Regions from separate parts of the Homo sapiens genome. Here region 1 is linked to region 2. The links are contacts of gene promoters, found by promoter capture Hi-C in human tissues and cell types (Jung and others, 2019). All regions are on one chromosome and are shown on one strand. Each heading gives the region's core, a stretch centred on a gene start or on the middle of the fragment in contact. The rest is flanking DNA. Distances are from core to core; before and after follow the strand shown.

The links. Contacts are between HindIII fragments. The study calls those that stand out against the background at their distance.
Region 1: a fragment that was not itself captured here is called in contact with the fragment with the promoter of GAS6 in region 2 in 2 of the 25 tissues and cell types used here (mesendoderm cells and spleen).

The regions. Positions count from the first base shown.
Region 1 is chr13:113,788,324-113,793,267 of GRCh38, forward strand. All of the region lies in intron 3 of TMEM255B (transmembrane protein 255B), which reads left to right. Among named protein-coding and RNA genes, the nearest start is that of GAS6-AS1, 25 kb to the right of the region's middle. RefSeq lists enhancers at 1-396, 397-925. The HindIII fragment of the contact is 4,986 bases long and covers 1-3,927 here.
Region 2 is chr13:113,862,454-113,867,443 of GRCh38, forward strand. It overlaps GAS6 (growth arrest specific 6), which reads right to left and starts at 1,623. Exons shown (of 15, transcript NM_000820.4): 1 at 1,380-1,623; 2 at 1,122-1,288. The coding sequence starts at 1,467. GAS6-DT (GAS6 divergent transcript) reads left to right here and starts at 1,724. Exons shown (of 2, transcript NR_044993.1): 1 at 1,724-1,842; 2 at 2,557-4,379. RefSeq lists silencers at 647-696, 1,177-1,236, 1,257-1,316 and an enhancer at 1,037-1,628. The HindIII fragment of the contact is 22,898 bases long and covers 1-4,990 here.

The DNA of each region.
Region 1 (4,944 bases), core at 185-2,684, 74 kb before region 2:
GGGGTGGGGATGGGCAGAGGGGAAGGCGGAGGGGGTGGGGATGGGCAGAGGGGAAGGCGGAGGGGGTGGGGATGGGCAGCAGAGGCTGCATCAGGTGCCTCTCGCAGGTGGAGCTGCTGGCCTGGGTGGGGGCTCAGGGGTTGCACTGCCTGCGTGGCCTGGCACTGGCGCAGCAGAGGCTCCTCTCTGCCCTCGGCTGGTGGCTCCCTGTGTCTCCTCCTGCCACACGTGGCCATCCTAGTGCTGGATTTATGGCGTACACAGCCATCTTAGCCGTCATCGTGTGGGTGATAACAGACCTGTGAGATGGAAGTGGCTGCTCTTGCCCATCCGGGCCCTGGCTCTGTGCCGTCATCAGCACGGTGTCACCGTGTGGCCGCCCTCCACCCGTTTGTCTCTGCACACTCGACCTGTGTACTCCACTCGCGCTTCTGGCCCTCACCATCGCCGTCACCTCCTGCCTGGGCCCTGCCGCTGCCCTCACCCCAGCCAGAGTTCTGGGAAACCCCAGGGAAGCTGGCTCCCCTCCCACTGACCACTGCACCCGGGGGCCGCGCCGCGCCTCCCTCCCTCCCTCCTGCCCCACTCATCCTGCCTCGTGGAGGCCACCGACCGACTGCCCTGGTGCTCCTTAGACCCACATGCCATGCTGTGGGGCCTTTGCAGGTGCTGCTGGGTGGCCTGGGCAGGGTCTCCACCTTGTTGAGTCTCTGCTCGAATGTCCCAGACCACAGAGACCCAGCCGCCCTCTTGAGGTAGCTGCACCCGGGCCACTCTCCCTCCCCACCTTATCCCCTTCCTTCTTTTCCTCTGATCACCATGACCTTATGCTCAGTGTGGTTTTTTTTTTTTTGTAAATCTACTTTCTTCTGTTGGAATGTAAACTCTGAGAGCAGAGGCATTTGAAGGTGACCTTTGCTCAAGAGAAGATGCCCCAACAGAATGCAATGAGATCTTCACAGCCTTCAGTCCAGATCCTTGTGGCTCCAGTGCAGGGACAGAGTTTCTCCTGGCAGTGGCCGTAGACATGCGCAGTCCTCATGGGCTATGGAGAGTGGGTTGCTTGTGTCTTTGGAGAATTGATCTGGTTCCTGCTATGCACGTTCTAGGTCACAAAAAATTTATCTGAACAAGAGTTAACAATGCCTGGAGAAAAGTCGTGACAGAGCCAGGCAGTCCAGGGGGATGTGGGCTGTTCCCTGAGGCAGCTCTCGTGAGGCTGGTTCTGGCAATGACTTTCGGACTTAGCCAGAGGAGCTGGAGGAGGCCATTCCCAATGTCTTTCCCAACACCACTGCCTGGACTCGGGTTGAAGCACCATGAGAAGCTCTTGGCATTTTCATGTTTCTGGCTGTCCTAGTGCTGACTGACCAGGCACATGGACATCCTAACACTGAACTGACCATGTACATGGACATCCTAGCCCTGGACTGACCGGGCATGTGGACATCCTAGCCCTGGACTGACCGTGTACATAGACATCCTAATGCTGAACTGACCGTGTACATGGACATCCTAGCCCTGGACTGACTGGGCACGTGAACATCCTAGCACTGGACTGACCATGTACGTGGATGTCCTAGTGCTGAACTGAACAGGCACGTGGACATCCTAACACTGAACTGACCGGGCATGTGGACATCCTAGCGCTGGACTGACTGGGCACGTGGACATCCTAGCACTGGACTGACTGGGCACCTGAACATCCTAGCGCTGGACTGACTGGGCACGTGGACATCCTAGTGCTGGATTCACTGGGCACATGGACATCCTAGTGCTGGACTGACCGGGCACATGGACATCCTAGTGCTGGACTGACCGGGCACATGGACATCCTAACACTGAACTGACCAGACACGTGGACATCCTAACACTGAACTGACCGGGCATGTGGACATCCTAGCGCTGGACTGACCGGGCACGTGGGCATCCTAACACTGAACTGACCAGACACGTGGACATCCTAGCACTGAACTGACTGGACACATGGACATCCTAGCTGTGGACTGACCGGACACATAGACATCCTAGCACTGAACTGACTGGACACATGGACATCCTAGCTGTGGACTGACCGGACACGTGGACATCCTAGCACTGAACTGACTGGACACATGGACATCCTAGCTGTGGACTGACCGGACACGTAGACATCCTAGCACTGAACTGACTGGACACATGGACATCCTAGCTGTGGACTGACCGGACACGTGGACATCCTAGCACTGAACTGACTGGACACATGGACATCCTAGCTCTGGACTGACCGGACACGTAGACATCCTAGCACTGAACTGACTGGACACATGGATATCCTAGCTGTGGACTGACCGGACACGTGGACATCCTAGCACTGAACTGACTGGACACATGGACATCCTAGCTGTGGACTGACCGGACACGTGGACATCCTAGCACTGAACTGACTAGACACATGGACATCCTAGCTCTGGACTGACCGGACACGTAGACATCCTAGCATTGAACTGACTGGACACATGGATATCCTAGCTCTGGACTGACCGGACACGTAGACATCCTAGCACTGAACTTGCTGCGCGTGGCCACACTCTCGCTGAATTTTACCTTTCACACTGAAAGAGCGGGAGGAAGGACAGCCAGGCAGAGCTGGGACATCTGCGAGGACGTTCGCAGGGTGGGAAGTGTTATGCATGACCAAGTTTGAATGTGTTTATGAAACATGGGTGATGGAAGGTAGACCCTGCAATTTTTAGGGATGCTCTAACAATTCGGTGCTTCTGTGATGTTTTGGGTGAAATTGGGTGGGGGTGAAATATGAACACCTCTCAACGGTCTGGGCCTGTGTCCTGCCCAGGGCTGGGTTGCAGCAGGTTCCTGGCTCCATGGCATTCATGAGGGGTTACTGGGTTGGAAGGTGAACATCTAGGGCCAGCACATCCTGGCAGAGTCTCTGCTGCACGCATTTACGGTGAGAGACCCAGCAGAGCCTGGATGAGTCACCTGCCACCCACTTCTGAAAGTGGCCGGGGCATCTAGCGGGTGGCACCTGCCGGCCGCCGAGCCGGACAGGGACGCTGGATCCTCCTGGGATGGCTTCGGCTCCCACTAGGCAGATGTGGGCTTCCTAACGTTGGGCAGCCCCAACGAATCTGGGGGACCACACTGGTCACACACCCCTCAGGGATCTGTGGGAGCGACGTCGTGTGGACAGATGTCCCCTTGGGGACACCAGTGGCTCTGAGGGTGGTGACTCAACCAGGAGCAGGGAAGGGGTGCTTGTGCTCCTGAGCTGAGGCGCTGTCTGAGCGAAAGATGTTTAGAGCCCCAAGTCCTTAGAGCCGCACCTGCAAAATGCAAATTGTGATGATGATGTCACAGTTGTGCGGATTAGAAGGATGGGTCGAGCGAAAGAACTTTGGAAGCTTTAAAGTGATTTTCTTCATCTTTAAGTCTTTTTTCCTTCTGCCTCTTTGGTTGGGAATTGTGCCCAACAGAAACTGTGGGAGTTCTTAAGGAGCGTGTGCAGTGGTGACGGGACCACGGCCCCTCTGCGTGCTTGCATCTAATGCTGGAAGCATGTCTGCAGGCATGATGGGATGTGACGCCGCTCTCCCTGCAATGCTAGAGCGAGGCACGCAGCCCCCTGATCCAGGCCGGCACCCACGAGAAGGGTGCACTGCGGGACAGGAACATCCCCCGGAACTGCGGGAGGCCCCAGAGCTGGGGACGCGGCCCCGCTGGAGGCCGGCTTTCATCTTCCTCTGGGAAGGTGGAGGGGCTTGGCCCCGACTGGGAAACCTCAAATGTTGCCCTCTGAGCCGTCTGTGTGTGTTTTTATGTATTTGTTCAAACAATTACATTTTTAATGTATTTTACGTATTTATACCTAACTGAATGTAGGAAATTTCAGTTAGGTGTAATTTCTGCCCGCTGTTTTTACACAGCTCTGCATAATAGTCATTTTACTTTTATGCAGCAGTTTCATCAGGAAAATAGGAAGGTGAAGGAAGTCTCTTGCCTTCGGCCACACAACCTTGGCATTGACGACCTTCTGACCGTAACATGGTGGCTGCAGCTCACCCCTAGCCCTGCACATCGTGGCCTCTGCCCCACCTCAGTGGGCCCCAGTCCCACCGACGTGCAGCCCCCAGCACCTTCCCTGTCTCCCCTTGAGGAAATTCTGTTTATTCTTCCAGGACTCGTTCAGGCCTTCCTTCTTTCTCAGGGTGCAATGAGGCCTTCCTTGTGTGTGCACCCAGAGCCCTGGCTTATGCTTTGCTATGGTGGCCGTCAGACGGGGTCAGCTGTTCAAGAGGGAACCTCCCTCATCTGTCTGTTCCTCCAGCACACTGGGCAGCTACACCATGCGATGGGCTCCGTCATTATTTAGTCAGTCGAACCAGAGCAATTAGGCAGAAGAGGAGATTTTTAAATTGCCACAGCCTGTAGAAAGTCCAAATAGAAGTAAGCTTTTGGTTCAGACCCAGGCTAATGCAGCCATGGTTTTCTGCACAGCTTTCTTCTGGGAGCATCTCAACTTTCTTTTAGGCAATCGATGATAAAATGCCAGAAACGTGAGACGCGGGAAGGGCGGGGAGGTGCCTGTTTTGCTCATGTCTGCGCCTGCAGCACCAGGCTGCGTATCCCGTGGGGACGCTGGAGCGTCCGTGACACTCATGAATAAGTCAGTGAACCCAGCACCTCCCTTTCCAGAGGGGGAACCAAGGACCACTAGGGGCAAGTCCAGCCCAGCAGTTCAGAGAACGCTCTGGAAGGACTCAGCTTGCCAGCTCTGCTCTGCTCTGCCTGGGGAGGTGGAGGGGGGATGCGAGGGTAAGGGCTCCGGTCCAAGGCCACCCCGAGAACCCTTGTGCTGCCCTTGGGTCTGGTGGCCACGTCCCCCTCTGCCCCCTCGCACAGCCACTGGGAGACAGAGCTCAGGGGTGTCGGCCAGCTTCCTGC
Region 2 (4,990 bases), core at 373-2,872:
CAGGCCAGGATTCATCATTAAAGAAACAGGAAAACAGAGAGGCCGGGGAGAGCGACCAAGCTAGGCTGAGCTGAAGGAGGGCACGGGCCTGTGGGGCTGTGGGCAGCCCCCGGGCAACAGCCCCAGGTGCGTCATCTCTGCAGGGATGAGCTATGTCCACAAGTGCACAGTGGCCATCTGACAGCCTCAGAGCTTTCAGAAAGGCAGATCTAAGAGGGGTCAAGTCAACCACTAGAAATGTAAGCGGAAACAGGCCTCCATGGTTCATCCAGAACCACTCTTTCATCCCGGGTGACATTTATTCCACCCCAGGAGAATTCTTTAAAAGGAACATTCCAGCAGAACGGAAAACTTCGCTATGAAATCACCCTGACTTCAGGGCGGGAGGGACGTCAACGGGAATCCACACCTTCTCGGACTTTCCAAAGTCACCCGCTCCCGAGCCCGCAGGATAGAGTGGCCAGGCCGTCCTCACACGGCGGCTCCTGCGGGAGGCGGCCCCGGGCGCCCCGCCTTCTCCAAGGACATTCCTAACCGAGGTGCCGGGGCCAGCACCGTCGGGCTCCTGAAAGCACCCGCTGCCTCCAGGAGAGCACCTGGCAGAACGGGGCCGCGGAGCCGCCCTCCCCTCCCGCATGCGGCCCCGCTCGATTCCTGGAATCTTATTTTTGGACCTGCTGCCGCAAGCAGTTCCCGCCCTCGGCCCTTTCAATTCCTCTTTCGGGAGGGGACTGCTCTCCACCCCTCTCAGGAGGACGAGGCGCGGCCCGGGGGTTCCTCACCTCCAGCCCAGCAGAGGGAGGGCCGCGGGGAAGCGGTTTGGGTTTTAACCATTGTGTTTCTCTCGCACTTTGGAAACGGACTCCCGGCTTCCCCGCGGGGAGGCGTCTGACAGCGAGCGTTTCCCGGACAGCCCCGCAGCGTCTCACCGGCCTGCGCGGGGATCCCGGGGTCGCCGGGGGATGGGCGTGGGGGACGCGGGGCGGGCCGGGGCTCCTGGGACCCTGAGGCCAGGCCTCGCCGCGCGGAGCTGGGGGGCGGCAGCAGCGCTGCCTCTCGGGAGCGGTTGGAGGCGCGCGGGCGCCAGGGGTTCCCCCGCATCCCGCCCGCCGGCTGCTCACCGTCTCGGGGTCGTTCTCGAACACCTCCCGCGCCTCCTCGCGGCTGCACAGCTCCTCCACGCACTCCCTCTCCAGGTGGCCCTGCTTGGCCTCCTCGAAGACCTGAAAGGCGCGGCGCTGCCTGGGCCGCAGGAACTGCGTGGCCTCGCGCGCCGGCAACAGCGCGGCTGCCCGGAGGGAGAGAGGGGGACGCGTCAAGCCGCGCCCGGAGCCTCCTCCCGCCGCCCGGGGACGGGGTCTCGGGCCCGCGGGACTCACCAAGCGCGCACTCCGCGGCCAGCAGCAGCAGCAGCAGCTGCGGCGCGCGGCGCAGGGCGGCGGGCCCGGGCGAGAGCGAAGGGGCCATGGCGGGCCGGGGACGCGCGGTCAGAGCGCCCGGGAGGCCGAGGCGAGCCGCGGGCGCCGCGGGGCGGAGGCTCCGGTCATCCCGTCCTGGCGGCCCTGAAGGTCACATCGCGGCGGCGGCGGCGGCGGCGGCTGCGGCACCTCAAGCGCTCGGTCTGGGCGTGTTCGGGCGGCTGCGCGCGGGGAGGCGGCGGGGGCGGGACCAGCGCGCGGGCGGGGCGCGGGTTCCCGGGAGGATCCGGGCGCGGGGAAAGCGGAGCGTCCGGGACGCGGCGGGACTCGAGTGTTTCGGAAAAGGAGCGTCTCCCCAGGCGGTGGTTGTCTTCACTAGCGATGGGGTAAAAGGAGGACGCAATACCTGGTTCAACTTGAGCAGGTACATTTTGACCATATTCCAGGTGTCATGTGAAGATTTAAGCCTCTTTCCAACCCCCACTCCCCCCGAATCTACTGCATCCTTTTTGGAGTCTTCATTCTTAGGCACATTTTGTCAAGACTTAAAACCTACCAAAGAAAAGATACACTGAGGTCAGATCCAATCCCACTGGGGGCCAGCGAGTGAAATGCGACGGTTTCCTTTTATAATCTCTGTTTTTCATAATGATGACATTAAAAATCTTGAGGTTTCCCAGTAGATATTTAAGCTGAAAGCAACATTGTGCTTGTCTTCAGAGACCAAGACTTTCTGGCTCTTGTCTTGGAATATTTCGCAAAGTCATAGGCAAAACACACACAAACAAACAGAACCAAAACACAGCAGACCACTCACGGGGGACCGAACCAGGCAGTTAGCCCAGCATCCCCCTGCTGCGGGAGGAGGGAGCTTGGATACTCCTCTCTGGAGAATCCTGCTCTGGAAATCCCCACACCCCAAAATGCAATGTAGAGGGGCAGTGAGTCAGCACCTCACCCCAAATGAATGGCCGTTCTGCTCAGCAGGCTCAACGCTTAGATCCCCAGATCCAGTTTCTCTTTGCTTTCTGTAATTGGAAGAATGGAATAGGATTGCTGCTAGAAATCTTTGAGGTCACTGGTTTGAAAGTGGGATTATGAGCATGAATTTTTGTTGTTGTTGTTTGTTTGTTTTCAGACGGAGTCTCGCTATGTTGCCCAGGCTGGGGTGCAGTGGCGTGATCTCTGCTCACTGCAAGCTCCGCCTCCCGGGTTCACGCCATTCTCCTGCCTCAGCCTCCCGAGTAGCTGGGACCACAGGCGCCCGCCACCACGCCCGGCTGATTTTTTTTATTTTTAGTAGAGACGGGGTTTCACCGTGTTAGCCAGGATGATCTCAATCTCCTGACCTCGTGATCCGCCCGCCTGGGCCTCCCAAAGTGCTGGGATTACAGGTGTGAGCCACCGCGCCTGGCCGAGCATGTTAATTTAAGCAAATGAATGTCCCTGGGAATGATCTTCAAGGAGAATTAAAGTGGGATAGAGAAGTCATCTATCTGCACCTGTGTCTGAACCAGAATGACGAGGCACTTCCATGTCAGCTAGTTACTGGAGCAGGCGGAGTAAGGAGTACCCCTGGGCTTCTGCCCCGAAACCACCACGGCTACTTCAAAACAATATTACATTAATTTTCCTGCTTGTTCTTGAGAAGCACTGGTTTGAAAAATTGGATGGGGTGATACATGTTTTAATCAGTATTTACAAGGCTCCTTAATCACTTCATCAGACAATTCATTGAGCACCTACTATGTGCCAGGCAGTGTAATTCATTGAGCACCTGCTGTGTGCCAGGCAGTGTCTGAGGCACTTCTAGCTATTATTTCCTAAGGGTTCCAGCAGCCCATGGATAAACTTCAAAGAGTGTAAGCTCCTAAAAATTGTTCGTATTTTCTGCACATTTTTGTAGTTTTGGAGAAGAGAGTTAATGGAGTTCTTGCCATTCTCAGAATTATTTGATCCCTTTAGGAATGAGCATCTCTAGCCTCTGCCTGTTCATCTGGGACAATCTGCACCTGGGCGTGGACCTGCTGCTTCAGATCAGTAGGTATCAGAATGAACTCAGTTGGATGGGGCAGTTCAGGACCCCTGGCCTCCTTTTAGTCTGGACCCCACTCTCATTCCTCATATTCTCAATTCACTCTTTCTACTGAGTTACTATCCTAGTAATGACAATGCCTCCTATCATCTAGAGACTTGGTTTGATACAATGCATTCACATACAACTGCTCGTTTTGATTTCTATAACTGGGGAATACAGAAAGCAAATATGCGGTGCAATGGAGGATGTCTCCATTACCCCAGATAACTCCAAAATTCTTCACCTAGTTACCAGTGCAGGAAATTCGTTCGAAGGCAGAAATGGAAAATGAATAAGAAACAATTTGGATGTGTTCCAAAAATGGAGAGTTGTCAGGCACTATATCATACAACCTGAAATATCAATGGTGAAGTAGACAGTTCACCTCCACAGGGGGCAGGAGGTTGGACCCAGGGCAATGGATGTTTTATATGGATGGTTAACCGGTCTGTGGCCATGAGGTGGAAAGCTGTGTACACCTGTGAAGCCATCATCACAATCAAGTTAGGGAACATATCCATCACCCAAAAAAGTGTTCTCATGCCCTTTGGTAATTCCTCCCTCCTAAATGTCCCCACCCTACCCCACATCCCAGTTTCTATGCAAAAACCGCTGACCAACTTTCTATCACTATAGATTTGTTTGTATTTTCTAGACTTTTATATAAAAAGAATTATACTGTATGTACACTTTTTTGTCTGTTTTTTTCACTTAACATATTTATTTTCAGAATCATCTATCTTGTTGCAGGTGTATTCCTTTTTATTGCTCAGTAGTATTCCACTGTATGGATATAACACAATTTGTTTATCATTCACCTGTTGAGGGACATTATACTTGCTTCTAAATTTTTACTATCACAAATAAAGCTGCTGTAGGCATTCATGTGTGTGTCCATCGTGTGGACATTGTGTGCACACGTGCTTCCATTTCTCTTGGGGAAATATCTAGGAGCAGAGTGTCTGGATCCCATAGTAGGTATTTGTTTAACTTTTTAAACTGTTTTTCAAAGTGGTTATACTGTTTTTCATTTTCACCATCAATGCATGAGGGTCCCAGTTGCTCCACATCCCCACCCATACTTTCTGTGGTCACTTTAAAAATTTTTAGCCGCCCCGTCCGGGAGGGAGGTGGGGGGGTCAGCCCCCCGCCCGGCCAGCCGCCCCGTCCGGGAGGTGAGGGGCACCTCTGCCCGGCCGCCCCTACTGGGAAGTGAGGAGGCCCTCTGCCCGACCACCACCCCGTCTGGGAGGTGTACCCAACAGCTCATTGAGAACGGGCCATGATGACAATGGCGGTTTTGGGGAATAGAAAGGGGGGAAAGGTGGGGAAAAGATTGAGAAATCGGATGGTTGCCGTGTCTGTGTAGAAAGAGGTAGACATGGGAGACTTTTCATTTTGTTCTGTACTAAGAAAAATTCTTCTGCCTTGGGATCCTGTTGATCTGTGACCTTACCCCCAACCCTGTGCTCTCTGAAACATGTGCTGTGTCCAC